5 separate regions of the Homo sapiens genome follow, and regions 1, 2, 3 and 5 are each linked to region 4. The links are contacts of gene promoters, found by promoter capture Hi-C in blood cells and fetal thymus (Javierre and others, 2016). All regions are on one chromosome and are shown on one strand. The core of a region is centred on a gene start or on the middle of the fragment in contact, and the rest is flanking DNA. Distances in the headings are between cores, read along the strand shown. Region 1 overlaps DYRK3 (dual specificity tyrosine phosphorylation regulated kinase 3). Region 2 has its middle 14 kb from the start of MAPKAPK2. Region 3 overlaps MAPKAPK2 (MAPK activated protein kinase 2). Region 4 holds the start of IL20 (interleukin 20). Region 5 has its middle 4.3 kb from the start of DYRK3.

Region 1 (2,700 bases), core at 142-2,641, 220 kb after region 4:
GAGAGAGATTTGCACTCTCTCATTTTTCACAGCCTATGCTACAGCAATCATGACTACTTTTGGATAAAACAAAAGTTCCTTAAATAATATACTCATGGCATTTTTATTTTCTTTTCTTGTTCCTACACTGCCCAACAAAAAGAGTCTCTTCCAATGTCATTGAGTTTGCACCACATTCTAGAATAATAAATGGAACTGGATCATTCTGAGAACTATATTGTAAAAAGCAAATATTCTACTTTAAAGAACACACTTTTTTTGGTTTGTTTTTTAGACAGAGTCTCACTCTGTTGCCTAGGCTGGAGTGCAGTGGCATGATCTCAGCTCAAGTGATCCTCCCACCTCAGCCTCCCAAGTAGCTGGGATTACAGGCATGTGCCACTAGGCCTGGCTAATTTTTGTATTTTTTGTAGAGGCAGGGTTTCACCATGTTGCCCAGGCTGGTCTTGAACTCCTGGGCTCAAGGAATCCACCCACCTCAGCCTCCCAAAGTGCTGGGATTACAGGCATGAGCCACTAATACCCAGCCAAGAGCACACATTTAGGATAGAACTTGAGCATACTTTTGTTCTGGAAGAGGACAGAAATAGAGCAAGGGACAGGAAACAACAAACAAAACCCAGTAGCAGTGAGTTAGCTTCTGTCCCGTCTCCACCCTTGTAAGTAGGACACTGGCTTAACAATTAGTTTTATTATCAGCCCTCACTGTTTAAATCTTAGCAGAGAAAAAGAAAAGCTGTTGAAGAGAATAAAATTAAGAAACATAAAAAGGGAAAACTTGATTATCACCAGTTTCTGGATTTTTAGTTTTCTTCTTCTAACTGAAGTTCACTCAGATCTAGGGAATAGCATTAAGCTTAACGTGAAAGTGGGGGGAAAAATGTGGCACATTGAAGTGGCAGGTAGCTGTAAAGAGAAGAGGGAAGCATTTTTAAACTGTAGTAAGGTTTATCCGAGAGTGATTACTTTTATAAGGAAGAGATTCTATGAAAATGCAGCAAGGAGGCTGGTCCGTGGAGTACCACAAAGCTGGGGAACTGCAGTTTTCATGCTGATTCTCTATCTTTACCACTCTGGGTCAATTGTGGCAGAGAAGCTGTTTTATCTTCCTTGGGCATGGGAGAGGAAAGGAGGAGGGATGCATATGACTCAGTTTTTAAATCAGTACCTTACAGGGTTATTTAGTAAAGTGGTAAGGCTTCTGTAAAATGCTTTGAGTGACTAGGAAACAAATCAGAGGCAAAATAACAACATAAAATAATAACACCAAACATCAGAGAACTGAAGGGAAGAGGAGCGAGTCACTGAAAACCAGGGACACCAGTTGTCCAGGTCACCAACAGCTTCCTGGTGCTCCCCCACCCCACAGTCTGCTGTGAGCTCTTTCACCTAGAATGAGCCTAGAGAATGGCCTAGTGGGGCAAGGGACCTAGCACTGGCTCTCAGCCACAACTAACACCACATCCCAAATTACCCCTCCAGAACAGATGCCGAGGGACACTAGAAGCGAGGAGTAGTTGGGATACTTTTGCTACACCTTCTATCTTGAGAGAAAGAGATTTAAACCAATAGTATAATACATCAGTTGAAATACATCTGACGATAATAACAAAGATGCATTGACCTATAAAAAGTCATTTAATGCATATTCCAGATGGCCAATACAAGCTGGTTAGGTAATTAGCCCTTGAAGAATTCTTTTATAATCATATAAAAATGTTTTGTCTTGTTTAAAAAAAGTCTACTCTAACAAAAACATCCACCAATGGGCTTGCATTTTTTCCATTTGCAGGTTTGTAAGATCATAAAAATATACACATATGCATCTCTGGGCATATCTCTGTCCACTAGCTAATCAGTTTTGGCAATACACTGCATAGGGGTATACTACCATTGGTTTCTGACATTAAGTTAGCTTTAAGCTTATTGGCTATTCCAACAACTGGAGGCAGCTTAGAACCCAATCCCTGGAAAGCACTTGCAGGATTAACTACCCGTTTCCCTGACACCTTGTCTATGGTGGTGAGAGGTCTGGGGACAGACTTGCTAATCCAAGGGTGTCTTAATGCTTGAGCTGGGGTCAAGCGGGCAGAGGGGTCCCAGTGAAGACACCTTTTCAAGAACTCTATAAACAAGTAGTCATCACACCCTTTCAGTGCTGTCCCCCAGTCTTTGCTGCCTGGGGGACCCCGCTTTTTACCCCTACGTGAGCGACCCCCCACAAGCACAACCCTCCCATCTGCCTGGGTAGTCACAGAGCAGTAGCGGGGTATGCCCTTGGAATTAATAAAGTACTTGGCACGTTTGGATTGCTCCAGAAGTTTTGGTGGTGGCATCCCTAGAAGCTCCATCATGCAGGCCAACTGGTCTCCTTCATCCTCTCCAGGGAAGAGAGGCTGTCCTGTTAAAAGTTCTGCAAGGATGCAGCCAAAACTCCATATGTCAATTGGTGTGCTGTAGCGGCTTCCTAAGATGATTTCTGGAGCTCTGTAGAACCGAGACTGGATATATGTGTAGAGCTTCTGGTACTCGAAACAGCTGGACCCAAAGTCAATGACCTTGGTTGAACTGCGCCCGTGGTGTTTCAGGAGAATGTTTTCTGGCTTCAGATCGCAGTGAATAATCTTATTTTTGTGGAGGGCATCCAAAGATTGCAAGATGGACTGGGCAAACTTGCGTACCAACTGGACGCTAAAACCC
Region 2 (2,700 bases), core at 39-2,538, 190 kb after region 4:
TGAGCCAGTATTTTAATTTTTTATCGCCAGTAAAGGGTTATACTCGAAGGACAAAGGTTGAACACTCCACAGGCTCAAGAGAATGAGATAGGAGTGGAGGGAAGCGGGGGAGGGAGCCATTATCTTGAGGACAATGGTGACACAGTCATCCTTTAGATCCTGGCTTCCCCTGGGGACCTGAGGAGAAGCGGTGGCAGGGAGGAAGCAGGTGGTTCCAGGGTCCTCGCTATATGAACCAAAAAGGCAGGTAAAGAAAAACAAAATGAAACCACCAGAGAGAGCCTCTAATTAATTGAATTAAAATTAAATGAAAAAAAAAAAACCTCCCTCTCAGACACAAACAAAGACACACAGAGCACACAGACACACCCTGAAGCACCAGCTAGCTACACTAAGGATCAAGAGAGGATGTGATCTCACCTATGTATTTATTGTGATAATTATTGTTGTTGGAGTTTTTTCCCCCAAAGGACAATCATAAGCCTGGGGCTGGATGGTGAGCGACAGGTTAGAAATGGGAAAATGAGAAAAGCCCACTGTGACCCTTTGAATAATCAACCTCAGGCTGTCAGGTGTTGAACCAGTACAAGGAGGGAACAGTAATGATATCAAACACTTCCACAGCATTCCCTATGTGCCAGACACTGTTCTAAGCACTTTCCACATATTTTCTCATTCAACACTTGCAGCAACCCTGTGAAATAGACTACTACTATTAGGACATTATCATTCATATGCATTTCCACCCTGGCTGTCTTGGCATCTCCGAGCCTGTAAAAGACGAGTTTCTTTAGTTCCCTACCTCTGTTCAGGGCCAGTTAGCTCCTTTGCCGGACCCAGTGCAAAATAAACATGCATAGCACCTTGTTCAGAAATTATTAAGAATTCCAGGCTGGGCGCGGTGGCTCATGCTTGTAATCCCAGCACTTTGGGAGGCCGAGGAGGGCGGATCACGAGGTCAGGAGATAAAGACCATCCTGGCTAACACGGTGAAACCCCGTCTCTACTAAAAATACAAAAAAAAAAAAAATTAGCCGGGCATGGTGGCGGGCGCCTATAGTCCCAGCTACTTGGGAGGCTGAGGCAGGAGAACGGCCGTGAACCCGGGAGGCGGAGCTTGTTGTGAGCGGAGATCGCGCCGCTGCACTTCAGCGTGGGTGACAGAGCAAGACTCCGTCTTGAAAAAAAGAAAAGAATTCCAAGTGAGTATTAAACCCACACAGCGTCCTTATAAATGCAGGTCCCTGTGCAATGCATGGCTTGCATGCCCATGAAGCTGGCCCTGCATAGAACCTCCCCGAATCATTGCACAGAACAATTGTGCTGTCTTCTGTTATCCTACCCTGGTGCATGCCCAACTCCTAAACAAGGAAAGGGGAGGGAAAAAAACACATTCTACCCCAAATATATTGGCTGTATGTAGATGGCTTTGTTGAAGAAGATATTCCTCAGCTAAATGAAAGTTTGAGAACCATGATCTAGATGTTTTTCTTGTCTTCCTATCCTCCCCCCATACCTAGAAGACAATACAGACGATTTGTTAAAATCTCTCCCACTGTTGTTTCAGGAGGTTTGTCCTTTTATTCACCCCTCTCCTCACATCCCACATCTAATCAGCTGGCAATTCTTGCTGACTCTATCTCAGCAAGGCCTCCTGTATCCTGCCCTCTTTTCCATCTCCCCTGCAACTGCCCTAGATTTCTCTCACCTAGAATATTCCACTAGCTCACTAACTAGATTCCTTGCCTTCAACCCCGTGCTTTTCCAATCCATCCTTTATGATGCTTGTTATACTTGGCCTTTTATTCGTCACTTTTGAGGACTTTTTTTTCTCCCAAGTTGTCAATTTCTCAAGGGCAGATACTCCATTCCCAGTCACCTGTGCCCTCCTCAGTAGCCCCGAGAGGAGCAGTCTGTGCTTGCTGAGTATGCGTGCAATGACTCCCTTGCAAATATCTCGCCTTTTCCATTAGGCTCACATTCTAGACAAAAGCTCAGCCTTTTGAACTCTCAGTCTAGAGAGTTCCTTTGTCTTAAATTCTAGAGAAAAGCATGATATCCAAAGTCTTATCTCATATTACAATAAAAATGTAGCCAATTGCAATAATTAGGAGGGTTTACTTCCCAATGTATCAATAAGGCATGGAAATAATTATGAGAAGCTGTGGAGAGGACAAATGGGTGTCTCTTGCTTGGAAGGCTTAGTTTGACTTGGCTTCAACCAAAAAAGGCAGAAAGGCCTGACTTCCATAATCTTCATTACCCATAGCAAAGTAATTGGTCTGTTTAAACAATCAGGATTGTTTTAAAGAATGATGGCCTTGAGTGCTACTTTAGGGAAGAAACCACAGTCAAAGATGGTTTACCTCAACATTTCAAAAGGTCTTACTGGTACCCTAATCTCATTTAAAAACCAGCCTAAATTACCTTGGATCCAGAATATGAGAACCATCCTATATCAGTTAGGACGCATGCAGCTGAAAAGACAACTGGCAATGGCTTAAATCATAAAGATGCTAATAGTTTCTTAACAAGGCTAAAGGGAGGTGATCTCGGGTTGTTCAGCAGCTCAACAAAGTCCTCAAGCTCCATCAAGGATCCGGGTCTGACCGTCCTCTGCTTTGCCATGCTCAGCAGACAGGACCTCTCCACCATCCAGCTCAGCATATTATTTCATTGTTGCAAGATGGCTGCAACAGC
Region 3 (2,700 bases), core at 103-2,602, 160 kb after region 4:
AGAGGCAATGATCAGAGGGACTGGCTTTGCTCCTCCCCCATCTGAGTGACTCTGGGTCTCTGTGGCTGTGGCCAGGGAAAGGCAGGGAGAGGGCAAGAAGGAATGGGAGATGAAGGACACCTCCCCTAGCTCCTTCTGGGAACAGACTAACTCCTGTCCCTGTGGGAAGACCAGGAGGGGAAAAGCAGCCTTTTAAGATTAAGCAAATAAATAAATAAATAAATAAATAAATAAATAAATAAATAAATAAGAGATAGGAAATCCTGACCCCGCCTTAATTACACTGGAAGTGTATAATCCTCAGGAAGAGTAGCTGATTCCCACCCCACACTCCCATTTACTCCCAGTTGCCAGTTTCCTGAGAAATAACCACTGCCTCACAGCGAAGCTGCACCAGAAGGGTGTTGAGGCCTGCAACAGGCTCCGGGAATTCCCTAAGCCTGGGTTTGTTCCAAGCGAAAAATCCAGTAAAGCCTCCCAGTCATTTCTCAGGAGTCGGCCATCTGCAGGACCCATCATTCATATCCACCTCCGACCAACGTTCCAAGCACAAGTCCAGCCAGGACTCTCGAATTTTCAAACTCCACAAACTTCCATAAATCCAGTTCACAATTCTGAATTCCTCCTTGAATTTAACCCAAAATGCCTTTGTCTCAGCTCCCTGGGTAACGGAGAGCTAATCGCCTTTCTGCCCTGGTCCACCCTCCAGATGCCCTTGGGTTGGTGGAGAAAGGAGAAAGCATCCAGCCCACCTGCTTCTTCCTGGCTGTCCCTCAAGAGTCAACACAATTGCACCCATCGGAAAGGAGAAGGCAGAGAGATAAGGGAGCTAAATCTTGTTCCCCTCTGCTTCCAGGATTAGCAAGCAGCTGCCTCAGAATCACCAGCCTCTCCCTTGTCCAATACCCAGGCACTCTCGGCAGCCTGGCCCTCCAGCAGGAGTGTCTACTCATGCAACCCCATGCTGCACATTGCTGCTTCCCAGGCATGACAGATGCAGCTGCTATTCAGTGTTTTCATGCCAGGACAAAAGCTTCTCCAGAAGCACAAAGCCAACAGGGAGGCAGACAGAGCTGATTTCAATAGAAGCCACCTGCCGGGGCCCCTCCTCTGCCACACCCCTCCCCCCAACCCACCGTACATACACATGCAAACATACATACACCTTTTTCAAACCTCTCCAACTTGTGCTGACCCAGAGTCAGGTGACTTTTGCTCTGAATCACTGAACAGTTCTCCCAGAGAAGGGGGGCTGTTGCCATTTCTCAAATAGTATTCCGTAGGATGTTAATAAGTGCTAAGTAAAAAGGGGTCATATAGATGGCAGAAGCACCAGGTTAAACAAAGTTAAACAGATTCTTTCACTGTAGAACTTCTCAGAGCTTTTAATTCAGTAATGTGCATTGCAGACTGTTCCCCAGTTTAGATGATCACAGAGTGTCTCGGGACTGGCGCTGCACTTGGAGAAACGGGCGGCTCCTTCTTCCAAGTTCACCCAGTTCCCTGAACATAGCTCTCCTACCACTTGGAGTACACAAGAAATACCTTGCTTACATGTTTCTCCCTCAATAAGCCTGCAGTGAACAGATGAATGGACAGATTAAGAAGTGCACACACACACTTGTGGTGCACTCATCTTCACTTATTCAGTTCAAATGATGATGAAGCTTCTGGAAGGACCATTAGACTTCATAAAAGGGACTGAACCCATGCACACCCTCAAGTCAACCTTGACTGCAGATCATGTGTGCTTATGTCACCACGGACAGATATCAGCCCCTAGATGAGCCGGCTGGTTTTATTCCCTCATCAAGTCCTCCCCGACCCTGGACCTCAGGCACTGTTTTGTATCCGGCTATAAAGGAAGTTGGGTGACTGCTTTCAATGTACTGTACACATCAGCAGTCAGTGAGAAGTCACCACCATAACCATCACACATGGTCTGGGTGAGCTGAGCCACCACCACCACTAATTCCAGCAACCTGAAAGGAAAAGCAGGATGCCTGCCAAGCGTGCCCAGCAAGGGGACCCTGGGAGACCCCATCCGACCTCCTCCATCCGTGGGCCAGGTAACAAATGGACAGGTAACAACGAGTGAGAGACACTCAGACAGGCGTAAATCTTCAACATTTCCCAGAAAGTCTAGTGCGTTCATATTCAAATGACATATCTCAGATTTTCTTTTGGATCTGAAAGTAGGACCCCTCCCCAACTCCAGGAAAAACTATCAGATAGACCCTCACTTTGGATTGGAAAAATATAGCCTGTGTACCCTGGGGTATACCCATCAGCCTCTGTGATTTCCTGGGATAGGCTTTTTGCTTCATTCATAATGAAGCAGACCCTGAAAGGGTGTCTCCCACTGACTTCCGCAGGCAGCTGAACCCAGAAGCAGATGCTCACCTCCCCCAGGATGGGGTGCAGGGCACTCTCAAGCTCCCCGCCCTCACAAGAAGCCTCTGCCTCTTTAGCAGGCTGCCCCTGCTCTGAAGCCACTGACTGTTCCTGGCCTGCATGTTTCTTACAACGCCTTCAGCAGAGATGGAGATTGTGGTTAGTGTCTGGGTACCTCAAGGGGCTGGGGAATTCCTCATGCTCTGGTTGTGATCTAGAAGGGAGGAGGCTCTGATGTCAGCTCTCCCCTCCTGCCCCCAGGAGCATCAAAAGAAAATACAATGAGATATTACCAGGCATTACGGA
Region 4 (2,700 bases), core at 42-2,541:
AAGTATAATTTCAAAGACAACAGAGTTATCATTAATATCAAATAGTTAGCATCTTATAGTTCTTTAGACTTTGCAAAGTACTTTTTGCCTAGAGCATATACCGAAAAGTCAATAAAACTGAGTTCTTATTACCTAGTCACATGTCTCAACACAGATTATTAGAACTTTTGGACTCAGTTTCTCCATCCATTAAATGGAGGTAGGAAAGAGAGTTTAGTTGCTAAGCCATTGAAGCTGTGTGCTGAGATGCATCCTGTCACCCAAGACCCACACTCACACAGAGCCGGAGGTCCTTCTTGATGGTAAGAAAGGAATTGGCGAGGCTGCTGATCTTCCGGAGAGTATAATGGTCAGGGGTCTGGTAGTTTTTAAATACCCTGTCCAGATAGAGTCTTAGCAAATGGCGCAGGAGGCAGCATCGATTCGCAGGCTGCAAAAAACCACAGGTATATTGGTGAGGGGAAAGGGGAGAGCAGAGACAAGACCAGGGTGATGGAGATGCTCCCACTCCACTCCTCCTCCCAGAGTTTGTCTGGGCCAAGCACATACCTTTGTGTCTTGCAAAGACTCAGTCCTCCTTAAGATTCTGATGTCAATGTTTCCATCTTTGGCTTGCTAAACAGAAGAAGACAAAACAAGCAAGGATGAGTCAGTGCCTGCTGCCAGGGTCTTCAATATCAAGACTTCTCATCCACTCCCTGCCAAGAACTAGTGGGAGGTGTCCTTTCCCAAAACATTTTAAATATTTGAACTACAGTTATTTCTTTGGAATACATCCCCCGGGTAAGGAATCCCCAGCCTGCCTCTTTTTATGATTACACTGCCAGTACTGCCAGGAAAGAGAAACGGACAAGGAAGGAAGAGAAAAGGCTTTCAGGAGAGGTAGATACCCGCTTACGTACCACACTGCCCCGTATCTCAGAAAATCCATTTCGTATTTCCTGAAGGTTTGTGGCGATCACACAGCTTCCCAAATTGAGTGTCTTCAGTCCAGTGGAAGGAGTCCATAGGAGATAAAACGCAGCAGAGAGAAGGCTGAAGGCAAGACTAGAGGCTTTCATCTTAGGCCTGAAATCTGGAGACCACAGGAGCTAGGAATTCAAAGAAGAGAGCATGACTTACTGAGTTTCCCCTCCTCCAAGTGTCCACGGGGTGAGGGGTGGGGGGTCAGGGGAAGAGAACAGCCTTATCTGGCCTCAGACAGTGTGGCCCATCCACGCAACTTACTAAGAAAAACTGCCAAGCCTCCCGTGAAGAGAAGATTTCAGGTCTGAGTTCAGAGTCTGAGTGCGAGTTGGTGGCACAGGTCGTGGCTCCTTTATTCTGTCCCCATCCTGGCTCCGCCGTTAGTGCCCAGCAGGTAAGGCCTGGAACAGCAGGCACTTGCAGTGAATAGATAGAGAATGACATTTCAGGGGAAATGTCAAAACTTGTTTTGGGGAATTGACGCATATAGCCTCCCCTTCCAGAAAGCCAACGTAGCTCACCCTTCTGGTCCCCTCAGACCCACAGGGGAACTGGGGAGAAATCGAATCTCACAGAAGCTGTGGCTGCGCCATCGAAAACACCTAGGGGGAAATTGTCTGGATTTTATGGCCACCCACAGGGCAGAGAAACTGAGCTCTGTTTGGCATTTGTCTGAGATCAGATAGGTTATTTGAGGGTAACAGATTCGCTTAAGCCCCAGAGGCAAATAGAAAGTCAATGATTTCATAACAAGCCTACTGCCAGGGAAAGGCAAGACGTGATGGGCAATCAGCCCGATTCCACCTAACACTCGTGTCTGGGACTCCACAGCGCCCTCTGCAGGAGGACTGTAGTCAGGCACTCCTGGGTGGATTCGAGAGTACACGCTTTCCTGGACCTGCAACTCAGGTCCTAGACCAAGCAAATGGTCCCAAAAGTCAGAGAAGAAAGGCAATGACGGAACTCATTTATTCTTGGGCGAGCCTCCTCAGTAAGAGAGCAGGTTAGGGTGTTTGCTGAGTTTTAAGATAAAATAATAATGGGCTGAGGTTAGGGTAAAACAATTGAGGCACTCATTTTAGGTGCAAAATTTAAGGGAGCACTAAAAAACCTCAGTCATCAAGATAAAAATATTTTAGTGCAATATCAAAATGAATTAAAAAGCTTATGACAAACAAAATATCAAAATTTTATATAAAGACAAAATTCGACAGTGCCATGCTGAGCCATATTGAAGCAAAAGGAAAAATTTGTACCACTATTCACATGTTTTCATGTTTCATTCTTAATGGTTAACTTTGTTTCTCAAAAGCATATGATGAAAATATTATTGATGAGTTTCCTTCCCTTAAAACCAGGACAGTAAAATTATAATAAATTTTGTTTGGGGCAGAAATAAAATATTTAAACTTAAAGTCATGAGTCGTAATAAACCTACTTTTTAATTTTTCAATTTTCTCAAATACTTTAATATTTTTGAAAGAAATAAATACATAAAATTTATAAAGACATATATATATACACACACATCATATATATATATGCACACATCCATATATATATGGCTGGCTCCATAGCTTGGCACAGCACTGATAATCATTATCACTTACTGAATTTTTCCTATATGCCAGGCAATATGCTAGACATTTTTTACATTTGTGACCACTCGAGATACTGTCAAATGTAGGAAAAGGAAAAAAGCAAACCAAACCCAAAAGAATCAAAGAGGACTCT
Region 5 (2,700 bases), core at 116-2,615, 230 kb after region 4:
TCTTGAAACCAAACCAGGAGTCTTTCTAATCATCATTACCATTTGCTAAGTATTTATTATGTTCCAAGCACTATCTGAAGCACTTTAACATATTTGCTCATTTAAAACTCACAGTAGTCCCGTGAGATAGGTATTATCTCCATCCTACACTTCAGAAAACAGTCTCAGAGTTTAATAACTTGCCCAAGGTCACCCAGCCAGTAAGTGATGAACTGAAATTCAAACCCTGGTCTGTTTGGTTGAAAAACTCAGCCCCTCGACTGCCTGTATTCCACCTGTATTCCCTGAGCCTGGCAGGCTAGCCCAGGCTAGACCACTGGACCCTTGAATTCTGTGACATAGTTTCTCTTGATTTAAGATTCTGAAGATGGTAAGCAGAATGATAGTTCCCCAAAGATGTCCGCATCCTAATTCCAAGAATCTGTAAATATGTCACTTTACTTGACAAAAAGGGACTTAGCAAATGTGATGAAGTTAAGGATCTTGAGATGGGGTGATTTTCCTAGATTATCTGAGTGGGCCCACTGTAATCACAGGAGTCCTTTTAAGATGGAAGGGGAGGCCAGGTGCAGTAACTCATGCCTGTAATCCCAGCACTTTGGGAGGCCGAAGTGGGCGGATCACCTGAGGTCAGGAGTTCGAGACCACCCTGGCCAACATGGTGAAACCCCGTCTCTACTAAAAACACAAAAATTAGCTGGGCATGGTGGTGTGTGCCTGTAGTCCCAACTACTCGGGAGGCTGAGGCAGGAGAATCACTTGAACCCAGGAGGCTGAGGTTGCAGTGAGCAGAGATCACGCCACTGCACTCCAGCCTGGGTGACAGAGTGAGACTCCATCTAAAAAAAAAGGATGGAAGGGGAAAGCAGGAGGGTCAGAGAGGGAAATGTGACCATGGAACAGAGGTCAGAGAGGGAAAGAGATTTGAAGATGCTGTTGTTGGTCTTGAAGATGGAGGAGGGGGCCGTGAGTTAAGGAATGAAGGTGGCCTCTAGAAGCTGGAAAAGGCAGGGAAACAAATTTTCTTCTAGAGCTTCCAGAAGGAACGAATCTCTGCTTACACCTCAATTTTAGGAGTTCTGACTTCCAGAACTGTAAGATAATAAATTTTCCTTGTTTCAAGCCACTAAATTTGTAATTTGTTGCATTAAAGCTTAGGAACCTTGGGTACTGTAATAGATTAAACATAGCACATCCTTTGCAGCTGTTCCCAGGGAGTAGAGGAAACAATTTTCCTGGTTCTTGAAGCTGACTGGCCACGTGACTTGATTTGACCAATAACACGTGAGGAATTTAGGCGCTTAGGCCTCAGGAGACCCCCCTTACAGCTTCTTCTCTCTTGCTCTTAGATGCTGCCACCATGTGGACAAGTCTGAGCTGGATTTCTGTAGTCCTCAGCTAATACCAATTGCCAGACAAGTGAGGGAAGCCACCTGGCTGAGTTGCCAGCTGACAGCAGCCATATGAGAGTTCCACGTAAAGCTAGCAGAAGAACCTCTTGGCTGCACCCCACCCAAATCAACAGCCCCTTGAGAATTATGAGCAAATAAAATGATTACTTTAAGCCACTAAGCTTTGGGGTATGGCAATAAATAAATGATAGGGGTACTTTTGAAAAATACCAATTATGCCTACCCTCCATCCCACCAGATCTAATGATGAACAGTTTCTTGGTAAGGATCTCTGCTCATATTTTTATTGTGGCTGTTGTTCATCAGCCAGGTTTGGAAATCACTACTGTAGACCTTGGAGACCAAGTCCTATTGAGTCATCTGGCTCATGGAAGGTCTTAGAAGACCAATGCACCTGCTCTATTCACAGCATTTGGGCCAAGGAACTAGTTCTCTCTCAATCACCTAGTGTACAGGTTAGGGCTTTTTCTATTGCAAATATCAAACTAAATCTGTTTAAAGAAAATGTACTAGCCGAGTGCGGTGGCTCACGCCTGTAATCCCAGGACTTTGGGAGGCTGAGGCAGGTGGATCACCTGAGGTCAGGAGTTCGAGACCAGCCTGGCCGACATGGTGAAACCTCATCTCTACTAAAAATACAAAAATTAACCAGGTGTGGTGGCGGGCACCTGTAATCCCAGCTACTTGGGAGGCTGAGGCTGGATAATGGCTTGAACCCAGGAGGTGGAGGTTACAGTGACCAGAGATTGTGCCATTGTACTCCAGCCTGGGTAACAAGAGCAAAACTGTCTCAAAAAAAAAAAAAAAAAAAAAAAGAAAAAGAAAACAAGGAAAAAAGAAAAGAAAATGTACCATATACCTTTTTTACAGTATTTTTTTAAAAGCAGTAAAGCTAAATTTGAATATGATGGGTGCCTGTCCTATCTCCATTTCTTGTTTCTATATTCCAACATGCTAGTTTCATTCTCAGGGTTCTTTTGTGCAAGCAAGATGGCAACTGCAGTTCCAAGTTCAACTCAGTAGAAAAGCTGTCTCAGTCATCCCACAGTCTCACTGTAATTCACTGGCTTTCACTGGGCCCATTCTTAAACCAAATATGCAGCCAGGAAAATGTAATACTCTGACTGGTCAGGCCTGAGGCTCCTAGACACAGCAGTAGAAACATATTGGACAGAAAGTTAGGAAAACAGTGACTTTCAGAGGAAAGTTGCTATAGCGGGTCCCAAAAAAGAGATAAGTGAATATGGTACAGCAAACACAACAGATATTCACTACAGCTAGGTGTTGG

Evidence for each region. Contacts are between HindIII fragments. The CHiCAGO score rates a contact against its expected background, and 5 or more counts as called.
Region 1: a contact is called between a fragment that was not itself captured here and the fragment with the promoter of IL20 in region 4, in 2 of 17 cell types (activated CD4 T cells and naive B cells). The highest score is 7.5, in activated CD4 T cells.
Region 2: a fragment that was not itself captured here is called in contact with the fragment with the promoter of IL20 in region 4 in 1 of 17 cell types (activated CD4 T cells); the score reaches 5.3 in activated CD4 T cells.
Region 3: a contact is called between a fragment that was not itself captured here and the fragment with the promoter of IL20 in region 4, in 6 of 17 cell types (activated CD4 T cells, naive CD4 T cells, non-activated CD4 T cells and 3 more). The highest score is 9.0, in activated CD4 T cells.
Region 5: a fragment that was not itself captured here is called in contact with the fragment with the promoter of IL20 in region 4 in 1 of 17 cell types (activated CD4 T cells); the score reaches 7.9 in activated CD4 T cells.

Annotation. Positions count from the first base shown.
Region 1 is chr1:206,648,113-206,650,812 of GRCh38, reverse strand. It overlaps DYRK3 (dual specificity tyrosine phosphorylation regulated kinase 3), which reads right to left. Exons shown (of 3, transcript NM_003582.4): 3 at 1-2,700. The coding sequence ends at 1,848. Among named protein-coding and RNA genes, the nearest start is that of DYRK3-AS1, 14 kb to the right of the region's middle. The HindIII fragment of the contact is 1,066 bases long and covers 859-1,924 here.
Region 2 is chr1:206,669,618-206,672,317 of GRCh38, reverse strand. No RefSeq gene overlaps it. Among named protein-coding and RNA genes, the nearest start is that of MAPKAPK2, 14 kb to the left of the region's middle. The HindIII fragment of the contact is 4,234 bases long and covers 1-2,700 here.
Region 3 is chr1:206,703,664-206,706,363 of GRCh38, reverse strand. All of the region lies in intron 1 of MAPKAPK2 (MAPK activated protein kinase 2), which reads right to left. Among named protein-coding and RNA genes, the nearest start is that of MAPKAPK2, 20 kb to the right of the region's middle. RefSeq lists an enhancer at 2,240-2,549. The HindIII fragment of the contact is 634 bases long and covers 1,036-1,669 here.
Region 4 is chr1:206,864,214-206,866,913 of GRCh38, reverse strand. It overlaps IL20 (interleukin 20), which reads right to left and starts at 1,291. Exons shown (of 6, transcript NM_018724.4): 1 at 1,228-1,291; 2 at 903-1,091; 3 at 550-615; 4 at 278-430. The coding sequence starts at 1,061. The HindIII fragment of the contact is 6,531 bases long and covers 1-2,132 here.
Region 5 is chr1:206,629,920-206,632,619 of GRCh38, reverse strand. No RefSeq gene overlaps it. Among named protein-coding and RNA genes, the nearest start is that of DYRK3, 4.3 kb to the left of the region's middle. RefSeq lists an enhancer at 1,229-1,298. The HindIII fragment of the contact is 420 bases long and covers 1,156-1,575 here.